Regions from separate parts of the Homo sapiens genome. Here region 1 is linked to region 2. Evidence: promoter capture Hi-C in human tissues and cell types (Jung and others, 2019). All regions are on one chromosome and are shown on one strand. The core of a region is centred on a gene start or on the middle of the fragment in contact, and the rest is flanking DNA. Distances in the headings are between cores, read along the strand shown. Region 1 has its middle 33 kb from the start of FRRS1. Region 2 holds the start of DBT (dihydrolipoamide branched chain transacylase E2).

Region 1 (5,313 bases), core at 1,511-4,010, 450 kb before region 2:
TTAATTATTGCCTCAATTTCAGAACCTGTTATTGGTCTATTCAGAGATTCAACTTCTTCCTGGTTTAGCCTTGGGAGGGTGTATGTATCCATGAATTTATCCATTTCTTCTAGATTTTCTAGTTTATTTGCATAGAGGTATTTCTAGCATTCTCTGATGGCAATTTGTATTTCTGTGGGATCGGTGCTGATATCCCCTTTATCATTTTTTATTGCATCTATTTGATTCTTCTGTCTTTTCTTCTTTATTAGTCTTCCTAGTGGTCTATTTTGTTGGTCTTTTCAAAAAACCAGCTCCTGGATTCATTGATTTTTTGAAGGGTTTTTTTGTGTCTCTATCTCCTTCAGTTCTGCTCTGATCTTAGTTCTTGTCTTCTACTAGCTTTTGAATTTGTTTGCTTTTGTCTCTCTAGTTCTTTTAATTGTGATGTTAAGGTGTCAATTTTAGATCTCTCCTGCTTTCTCTTGTGGGCATTTAGTGCTATAAATTTCCCTCTACACACTGCTTTAAATGTGCCCCAGATATTCTGGTACGTTGTGTCTTTGTTCTCATTGGTTTCAAAGAACATCTTTATTTCTGCCTTCATTTTGTTATTTACCCAGTAGTCATTCAGGAGCAGGTTGTTCAGTTTCCATGTAGTTGTGCAGTTTTGAGTGAGATTATTAATCCTGAGTTCTAATTTGATTGCACTGTGGTCTGAGAGACAGTTTGTTGTGATTTCTCTTCTTTTGCATTTGCTGAGGAGTGTTTTACTTCCAATTATGTGGTCAATTTTAGAATAAGTGTGATGTGGTGCTGAGAAGAATGTATATTCTGTTGATTTGGGGTGGAGAGTTCTGTAGATGTCTATTAGGTCCACTCGGTCTAGAGCTGAGTTCAAGTTCTGAATATCCTTGTTAATTTTCTGTCTCATTGATCTGTCTAATATTGATAGTGGGGTGTTAAAGTCTCCCATTATTATTGTGTGGGAGTCTAAGTCTCTTTGTAGGTCTCTAAGAACTTGCTTTGTGAATCTGGGTGCTCCCGTATTGGGTGCATATATATTTAGGATAGTTAGCTCTTCTTGTTCAATAGATCCCTTTACCATTATGTAATGGCCTCCTTTGTCTCTTTTCATCTTTGTTGGTTTAAAGTCTGTTTTATCAGAGACCAGGATTGCAACCCCTGCTTTTTTTTGCTTTCCATTTACTTGGTAGATCTTCCTCCATCCCTTTATTTTGAGCCTGTGTGTCTTTTCACATGAGATGGGTCTCCTGAATACAGCACACCAATGGGTCTTGACTCTTTATCCAATTTGCTAGTCTGTGTCTTCTAATTGGGGCATTTAGCCCATTTACATTTAAGGTTAATATTGTTATGTGTGAATTTGATCCTGTCATTATGATGCTAGCTGGTTATTTTGCCCACTAATTGATGCAGTTTCTTCATACCATCGATGGCCTTTACAATTTGGCATGTTTTTGCAGTGGCTGGTACCAGTTACTCCTTTCCATGGTTTTTGTTGTTTTTTTTTTTTTTTTTTTTTGAGATGGAGTCTTGCTCTGTCACCCAGGCTGGAGTGCAGTGGCGTGATCTCAGCTCACTGCAAGCTCCACCTCCTGGGTTCATGCCATTCTCCTGCCTCAGCCACCACCATGCCTGGCTAATTTTTTATAATTTTTAGTAGAGATGAGGTTTCACCATGTTAGCCAGGATGGTCTCGATCTGACCTCGTGATCTGCCCACCTCAGCCTCCCAAAGTGCTGGGATTACAGGTGTGAGCCACCACGCCTGGCCCCTTCCCATGTTTTGTGCTTCCTTCAGGAGCTCTTGTAAGGCAGGCCTGGTGGTGACAAAATCTCTCAGTATTTGCTTGTCTGTAAAGGAGTTTATTTCTCCTTCACTTATGAAGCTTTGTTTGGCTGAATATGAAATTCTGGGTTGAAAATTCTTTTCTTTAAGAATGTTGAATATTGGTCCCCACTCTCTTCTGGCTTGTAGGGTTTCTGCAGAGAGACCCGCTGTTAGTCTGGTGGGCTTCCCTTTGTGGGTAACCCAACCTTTCTCTCTGGCTGCCCTTAACATTTTTTCCTTCATTTCAACCTTGGTGAATCTGACAATTATGTGTCTTGGGGTTGCTCTTCTCAAGGAGAATCTTTGTGGTGTTCTCTGTATTTCCTGAATTTGAATGTTGGCCTGCCTTGCTAGGTTGGGGAAGTTCTCCCAGATAATATCCTGAAAAGTGTTTTCTAACTTGGTTCCATTCCCCCCGTCACTTTCAGGAACACCAAGCAAACACAGATTTGGTCTTTTCACATAGTCCCATATTTCTTGGAGGCTTTGTTCATTTCTTTTCACTCTTTTTTTCTCTAATCTTGTCTTCTTGCTTTATTTCATTAATTTGATCTTCAATCACTGATATCCTTTCTTCCACTTGTTCGACTCGGCTATTGAAGCTTGTGTATGCTTCACGAAGTTCTCATACTGTGATTTTCAGTTCTATCAGGTCATTTAAGGTCTTCTCTACACTAGTTATTCCAGTTAGCCATTCGTCTAACCTTTTTTCAAGGTTTTTAGCTTCCTTGCAATGAGTTAGAACATGATCCTTTAGCTCAGAGAAGTTTGTTATAACCGACCTTCTGAAGCCTACTTCTGCCAACTCGTCAAACCCATTCTCCAACCAGTTTTGTTCTCTTGTTGGTGAGAAGTTGTGTTCCTTTGGAGGAGAAGAGGTGTTCTAGTTTTTGGAATTTTCAGCCTTTCTGCTCTGGTTTCTCCCCTCTTTGTGGTTTTATCTACCTTTGGTCTTTGATGTTGGTGACCTATGGATGAGGTTTTGGTGTAGATGTCCTTTTTGTTGATGTTGATGCTATTCTTTTCTGTTTGTTGGTTTTTCTTCTAACAGAGAAGCCTCTCAGTTGCAGGTCTGTTGGAGTTTGCTGGAGGTCCACTCCAGACCTTGTTTGCCTGGGTATCACCAGCAGAGGCTGCAGAATAGCAAATATTGCTGCCTGATCCTTCCTCTGGAAGCTTCATCCCAGAGGGGCACCCACCTGTATGAGGTGTCTGTCAGCCCCTACTGGGAGGTGTCTCCCAGTCAGGCTACACAGGGGTCAGGGACCCACTTGAGGAGGCAGTCTGTCTGTTATTGCAGCTCGAATGCCGTGCTGGGAGAACAACTGCTCTCTTCAGAATGGTCAGGCAGGGATGTTTAAGTATGGAGAAGCTGTCTGCTGCCTTTTGTTCAGATATGCCCTGCCCTCATAGGTGGAATCTAGAGAGGCAGTAGGCCTTGCTGAGCTCCAGTGGGCTCCACCCAGTTCGAGCTTCCCTGCCACTTTGTTTACACTGTGAACATAGAACCACCTACTCAAGCCTCAGCAATGGTGGACACCCCTCCCCCCACCAAGCTCCGGCATCCCAGGTTGATCTCAGACTGCTGCGCTAGCAGCAAGCAAGGCTCTGTGAGCATAGGACCTGCTGAGCCAGGCACAGGAGGGGATCTCCTGGTCTGCAGGTTGTGAAGACCATGGGAAAAGTGCAGTATTTGGGCAGAAGTGTACCACTCCTCCAGGTACAGTCACTCACGGCTTCCCTTGGCTAGGAATGGGAAATCCCCCAACCCCTTGCATTTCCCCGGTGAGGCAATGCCCCACCCTGCTTCAGCTTGCCTTCCATGGGCTGCACCCACTGTCCAACCAGTCCCAATGAGATGAATCAGGTACCACAGTTGGAAATGCAGAAATCACCCATCTGCTTTGTCAATCTTGCTGGGAGCTATAGACCAGAGCTGTTCCTATTTGGCCATCTTGGAAGTGACCAGTGCCCCTAAAGTCTTAACGCATTCCAGTTTCAACTCTAAAGTCTAACATTTAAAGTCTAATATTTTTTCTTAACTTAATAAGGTTTTCTTTAACTTTTGTTTTAAGTTCAGAGGTACATGTGCAGGTTTGTTATTAAAGTCTCTCTAAAAATCATCTAAACTGGATATTGCCGAGACTTGAGATGTAATTCATTATGAGGCAAAATTTTTCTCCAGCTGTGAACCTTTGAAACCAAATATGTTATCTGATTCCAAAATACAATAGTGGGACAGACATAGAATAAACATTCCCATTCCAAAAGAAGAAGCAGGAAAGAAGGAAAGGTAGTTGGTTTCAAGCCAGTTCAAAACCCAACAAGGTATTCCATGAGATCTTAAGCCCGGAGAATAATCCTCTTCAACACTCTGCCTTCTAGGCCTGGTGGTGTTGGGGTGAGGGGGTCATCCCCCTAAGGCTGTACATGGTGGTCTTGGCCCCACAGCTCTGCAGAGAGGTCCTGGCTCCCAAGCTTTGGTCAGAGGCCACCTGGCCTTTTAAAACTGAATGGTGACCGTGATAATCTCTGAATTGCCTTCAGGGCAATTTTTCTCTGTCTTTGAACAGTGCACGTTTATACCCAGATAGCTCTATCGTCTTGTCTTTCAAAATCTAAGAAGTCAAATATCCTTTCTTCATTTTGTCCAACCTCCATCCCTCAGTTCAAGCTGACAGTGCTTCTGCTCCTATAATATCATAAACTCTTTATTGAGTGAAAGTCCAGCCACACCCTTGGTGTTCCTTTCAGAATATGTTTTTGCATTTTTTGCAATATCAATAGGCTGAATTTTCCAAATATTTAAGATCTAGTTCCTTGTTGCTTAACAATCCTTTCTTCAGTTCATCTCTGTCCTCTCACATATTACTATAAACAGTCAGGAGGAACTAAGATACTCCTTCAACACTTTGCTTAGAAATATTCTCAGGGAAATTTCCAGTTTCATTGCTTACCAGTTCTACTTTCCAAAAAAACACTAGAACACAAACACAATTCAGTCAGGTTATTTCCCTCTTTATAACAAGGATTGCCTCTCCTTCAGGTTCCTACATGATCTTTGTTACCATCTGAGACTTCACAAGAATCACCCTTAATATCTATATTTATAGTATGCACCTTAAAACTCTTCCAGCCTCTACCCATTACCCATTTCCAAAGCAACTTCCACATGTTTAAGCATTTGTTACAGCAGCACCTCACTTCTCAGTATCAAAATCTGTATTAGTCTGGGTTATCCATAGAAACAGAACTGCTAAGAGATATAAATAGATAGATATAAAGAAGCTTATAAGAAATTGGGCCAGGTGAAGTGGCTCACACCTGTAATCCCAGCACTTTGAGAGGTCGAGGTGGGCGGATCACTTGAGGTCAGGAGTTCAAGACCAGCCTGGTCAACATGGTGAAACCCCATCTCTACTAAAAATACAAAAGTTAGCTGTGGCATTCATCTCTGGTCCCAGCTACTCAGGAGGCTGA
Region 2 (5,650 bases), core at 2,747-5,246:
GCTACTTGGGAGGCTGAGGAAGGAGGACCACTTGAGCCCAGGAGGTCAAGACTGCAGTGAGCCAAGATCATGCCACCACACTCCAGCCTGGGCAACAGAGCAAGAACTTGTCTCAAAAATAATAATAAATAAAATAAAAAATTAGGCCAGGTGCAGTGGCTCATGCCTGTAATCCCAGCACTTTGGGAGACTGAGGCAGGTGGATCACGAGGTCAAGAGATCAAGACCATCCTGGCCAACACAGCGAAACCCCGTCTCTATTAAAAATACAAAAATTAGCTGGGCATGGTGGCGCGTGCCTGCCCAGTTACTTGGGAGGCTGAGGCAGGAGAATCGCTTGAACCCGGGAGGCGGAGGTTGCAGTGAGCTGAGATTGCACCACTGCACTCCAGCCTGGTGACAGAGTGAGACGCCGTCTCAAAAAAAATAAAAATAAAAAATTAATAATTCAATATCACAACCAGGACAGAAGAACATAAAGGGAAATGAAACTGTTCACCAAAGTAGCGTATTAAGGAAATATTTAATAATAATTCAATAGGCAGCTGTTGAGCACTCCTAAAGTCAGACATTGTACTGGACTTGGAAATGCAAAGCTAAATAAGATGCAATATATAGTTCCTGAATTCAAATTGCTTACACTTTACTACAGGAAGACAGACACAACAGAAAAATTCCAAATGGCATGATTAATCAAGAGTCAAATGCATTATGTCCTAGGGAAATGTAAAACACAACATTATAAGGCTATTTTAATAATTTACTACGGGGGTAAGAACTGTTTTTGCTTACAACTTTTTAGAAGAGTTTACAAACCTGACTTTTTTTTTTACTGAGTCATTTAAAAAATATTTATGCACACCTACAATGTGCCAGGCACTTGGGATTATACAGAGAACAAAACAGATGCAATTTCTTCCCTTATAGAATGCACAGTACAGTGAAAGGTAAAGACAAGTAAACCGGTGATTATAACACGTGCTATAATGAAGGAAATAGAGTGTGTTAAGGGAACCTAGCTGGAGAAAGTTATGTTGAAGTAAGACCTGACGGATGAGTAGGTGTAACCCCGGGGATGAGGTATGTTGCAGATAAGGCCACAGTGGAGTAAGGCAAGAGTCTTTAAAGCAGAGGAAATACATGTGCAAAGGTCTGGAGTTGAGACAGAAAGCACAGTGTGTGTGCAAATAACTCAAGTTGTTCAACAGACTTCTAGTGTAGTTTAGTGTGGAATAAGGGTGGGGAAGTGTCAGAGTTGGGGTTGGGATGGGTAGGTTTTGGTAAGGAATGAGATCTAAGAGACTGGAAAGGTCCAGATCATAAATTGCCTCATAGTCATTTGAATTTTGGACATTTTGCTGAAGGCAGTTTTAAACAAGAAAATGATATTATCAAATGTCTCTTACTTTATAAGATCACTCTGGCTACACTATGGAGAATGGGTTGGAAAAACTACAAGACCACTGGAGGCATATAATCCAGTTAAGAAGGGCCAAGACACCTCCAGTTGAGGGCAGGGTGGAAAAATCATGACTAGATTTCTTCAGAGAGAATTACAGGCTCAAATCAAGAGAAACTGGGCCAGGGGCAGTGGCTTACGCCTGTAATCCCAGCACTTTGGGAGGCCAAGGCAGGAGGATCACCTGAGGTCAGGAATTCAAGACCAGCCTGGCCAACATGGCAAAACCCCGTCTCTACTAAAAATACAAAAATTAGCCAGGCATGGTGGTTCGCGCCTGTAGTGCCAGCTACTTGGGAGGCTGAGGCAGGAAAATCACTTGAACCCAGGAGGTGGAGGTTGCAGTAAGCCGAGATTGCACCACTGCACTCCAGCCTGGGCAACAGATCAAGACTCTTCTCAAAAAAAAAAAAAAAAAAAATTAAGAGAAACTGGTTTGAGGGTTCAGTTCTAGAGGCTGGAGAGTCTGACCTGCTTTGAAGCTTTACGGCAGACACTGTGAGAAGACTAAAGACAAGCTTTTCTGCTGGGCATGGTGGCTCATCCTGTAATCCCAGCACTTTGGGAGGCCAAGGCAGGCGGATCACTTGAGGTCAGGAGTTTGAGACCAGCCTGGCCATCATGGTGAAACCTCGTCTCTACTAAAAATACAAAAATTAGCTGGGCATGGTGGCGTGTGCCTGTAGTCCCAGATATTTGGGAGGCTGAGGCAAAAGAATCGCTTGAAACTGGGAGGCAGGGGTTGCAGTGAGCCAAGATCGCACCACTGTACTCCAGCCTGGGTGACAGAGAGAGACTCCATTTCAAAAAAAAAAAAAAAAAAGACAAGTTTTTCTAAGCTCCCTTGTGCTAGCCGGGGCCATGTAACACAGTTCTGGCCAGTGAGACTGGAACCTCCTCCTCTTCCACCTTCCTGCCTTCAACATAAAAGAAGAAGTCGTAGCAGCCCTCTTGTATACAGTAGGAAAAGGACAAATGAACTACTAGGGAAATGACGACATTGATAATCATAAGCCACTTAATGTGAGCTGACATCTAATTGGGGATGCTCTGTATGCATGGATACTTAATTTCCTATTTATTGGTTGGGTTTTTAATTGCAGCTGGAAAACATCACGTACATATGAAACTGGAGATTTCCAGGACAGTAGGATATATGGGTTTGGAGTAGACCTGGTTGGAAGACTGGGGAACTTTAGGACTCATCAGCATAGATGGTAACTAAAGCCAAAGAGTGGATGGGATAACCCAGAAAGTGGGAAAAGTGCAGAGGGCCAAAGTCAGAGCCCTTTAGAAAAAGCAATATTTAAAAGGCGGGAAGGGAAACAGGATATTGGGATGAAGTGGCCAAAGATGAAGAAAGAATAATATTGGGAAACTGGTGTCACAGAAAACAAGAATGGAAAGCTCTAGAAAGAAGAGAGACCAATATGTGTTAAGTGTTGCTGAGAAGAGCTCTCTTCTCCTGGTTATCTCTTACTTATCCTTCTTACATCTCAAGTCATACAGTATCCTCTGGGAACTCCTCTGACCCCCAAGTCCACCATAGGTGTCCACTCCTGTGTGTTCCTGTAGTTCTAGGCACTTGTCCCATCACAGTACCTCTCATGCTGGGTTGTAATTTCTATCTGTCTCCCTCTCCTTTGTCCTCCACCACAAGGTTGTAATCTCTTGAGAAGGAAGATATGATGTCTATTTCATATTTGTATCTCCAGTGCCTAACACAGCACTGGTACATAGCAGGCTCTTGAAAGTTTTTGTAAGATCGGGGTCACCAAGGCAGGAGCATCTAGGGAAAGGGAGAAGAGGCAGGAAGAAGAAACACTAAGCAAATAGGGGTAACAAGTATCATTACCGGTATGTGTCAGTGCTTGGTGCTAAGACTGGGAGAAAGAGAAGGAAGTGCAGGGGAGATGGTGATGGGTCACAGCCTTGGTGACAAAAGGGTAGGAATGATATGTGGTGCGGACATAGAAGTACAAGGCAAAAGAGTGACGCCGAGCTGCTCAGTTCTTCGGAAGCAGGGACCCCTGCTGATATTCTATAACTTGAACGGCCTCTTCCTCTACACACTGTAGATTCCTTGAGGGTAGGGGTCGTGTTACCAGTGTTTGGCATACTGTGGGTACGCAATAAATGCTAAACGAATATATCTCTGGATCCACAGCGCCTATCACAATGCCTGGGCACCTGGAAGGCGCTCAATAAAACGCTAGCTGGGCCTCGGGGTACAGATGGAGCAGGACGGCTGAGTCGCTGCAGAAGCGCTTCCAGGTAAGGGGAGGGAGTGGGTTTCCACTCCAGACTGGTCGACTCGCTCCGTTCTCTGCCCTTTATTTTGCATGCATCCCTTCACCTCTCCATCACGCGTGCCCTGGACGCCTGGCACCGGAGGAGAAAGTAAAACACCACTCCTGGATGACTCCGGACAAATCACTCCTTCCCGGCCTCAGATCTGCCCAAACGTGCTTACCAGCTTCCCCGCATTCCTGCTCCAGGTTCTCAGCATACGGACTGCAGCCATCTTACCCCGGAAATGACAACAGTGCCGCAAACTGGAGAGACTCTCCTCGGCGCGGCCTATCAGGAGATGGGAAACGCGCCTCCCCCTGGGCGACCAATAGGGAGGGAAGAAACGAGCCTCCCACCCAACAGCCAACCAAGGAGTAGGGCGGAGCCTGAGCTAAACCCTAGGATCTGGGACCCAGCGGGGAGTGAAAAGAGCCTGGGGGACGGAGGCGGGGCAGAGGGCAGCCCAAATTTAACACTGCTGTGTAAATACAGATGCACCAAAGATAATCTTTTTAGTGTATGTGATGGGGAAAATAGAGAGTGTTAAGGAAACACAAAGAAAGGTACTTACCTCAAGAAAGTTATGTTGCAGTAGGACCTGAGCGATGAGTTGGAAAACATTTCCCCGTCTTCATCTTGTAGTGTAGCCGCCCCAAATACAGAAAATAGAATATTTCTATACGTTGTAGCAAGGCTCTGGACAACTAGTTGTTTCACAAGTCCATACAGCAGTACTTCCCAATGACTGCCTTTTTTACTCCCATTTATGTTTTTGATTACCAAAATTGGCTAATCAATTTTTTTCATGAAAGATGAACATTACCTAATGTCTAAAATAAACATGTTATCATCTTTCTTTTTACAGACTGCTATCAGATGCAGCTAACTAGCATATGCAATACATGTCACAGACACATGATCTTGATTTAGTTGTCTCTTAAAGAAATGTCAAATTCAGGTCAAGTGGAACTGGTAAAGAACAGATCAGAGCTTTCTTTTAAAAGGCAATCTTCCTCAGAGCAACTAGGAAACCAATTCCTGGAAATGTCCAGGATGACATTAGTCTGTTATTGCTTCTTACGTGGGAATGAAAATCTGCACAGATGTCTAAGGAATTACAGAGAAAAAAAACTGGAACAAATACATTTTAAATGCTCAACATTGAAGATTAGTGGTTATGAAACAAAATCTCAGGTATTTCACAACTTCATTGTTTAATATGACCCAAACACTTTTCCCCCTCATTTGCCATTTTATGTATTACACATCTACACACAAAAAATCAATGCAAACAATAAATCTTATTATCTTTTTTGTTTGTTTGTTTGTTTGGTAGAGATAGGGTCTCTTGGGCCAGGCGTGGTGGCTCCTGCCCATAATTCCAGCACTTTGGGAGGCTGAGGCAGGCAAATGGCTTGAGCTCAGAAGTTCAAGATGGGATCTCTCTATGTTGCCCAGGCTGGTCTCAAAGTCCTGGTCTCAAACTGCGATCTTCCCATTTCAGCCTCCCAAAGTCCTAGGATTACAGGCATGAGCCACTGGGTCCGGCCTAAATAGCTATCTTTCTCAGAAAATCTAGAGTAGTCAAAAGAATTTCAAGTTTTTACATTTCCTTAAAAATGTTTATAGACATTATTAATATATTTGATAATCCCACAAGCATGTGTTTGTATAAAAAGCAGTGGCAGTTGTACCTTTGAAGTGAATCATCTCCCTTCCAAGCTGCTGCTATACAACTTTCTTTGTCCTAATTTCGTTTTTAACTGTACCTGCTCCTCAGAAGATAACTAGTTTATTTTCCTTTACCGTCTTCTTATGTCAATGGATTCTTGCTTCTATATTCAGTATAATATGTGTCCTTATCTTTCATTCCAGCATCTGGAAAGAAATACACCATCT

What was found. Contacts are between HindIII fragments. The study calls those that stand out against the background at their distance.
Region 1: a contact is called between a fragment that was not itself captured here and the fragment with the promoter of DBT in region 2, in 2 of the 25 tissues and cell types used here (spleen and stomach).

Annotation. Positions count from the first base shown.
Region 1 is chr1:99,797,252-99,802,564 of GRCh38, forward strand. No RefSeq gene overlaps it. Among named protein-coding and RNA genes, the nearest start is that of FRRS1, 33 kb to the left of the region's middle. The HindIII fragment of the contact is 3,911 bases long and covers 806-4,716 here.
Region 2 is chr1:100,245,838-100,251,487 of GRCh38, forward strand. DBT (dihydrolipoamide branched chain transacylase E2) reads right to left here and starts at 3,997. Exons shown (of 11, transcript NM_001918.5): 1 at 3,933-3,997. The coding sequence starts at 3,983. RefSeq lists enhancers at 3,166-3,725, 3,726-4,285, 3,887-4,006 and a silencer at 4,117-4,216. The HindIII fragment of the contact is 17,632 bases long and covers 1-5,650 here.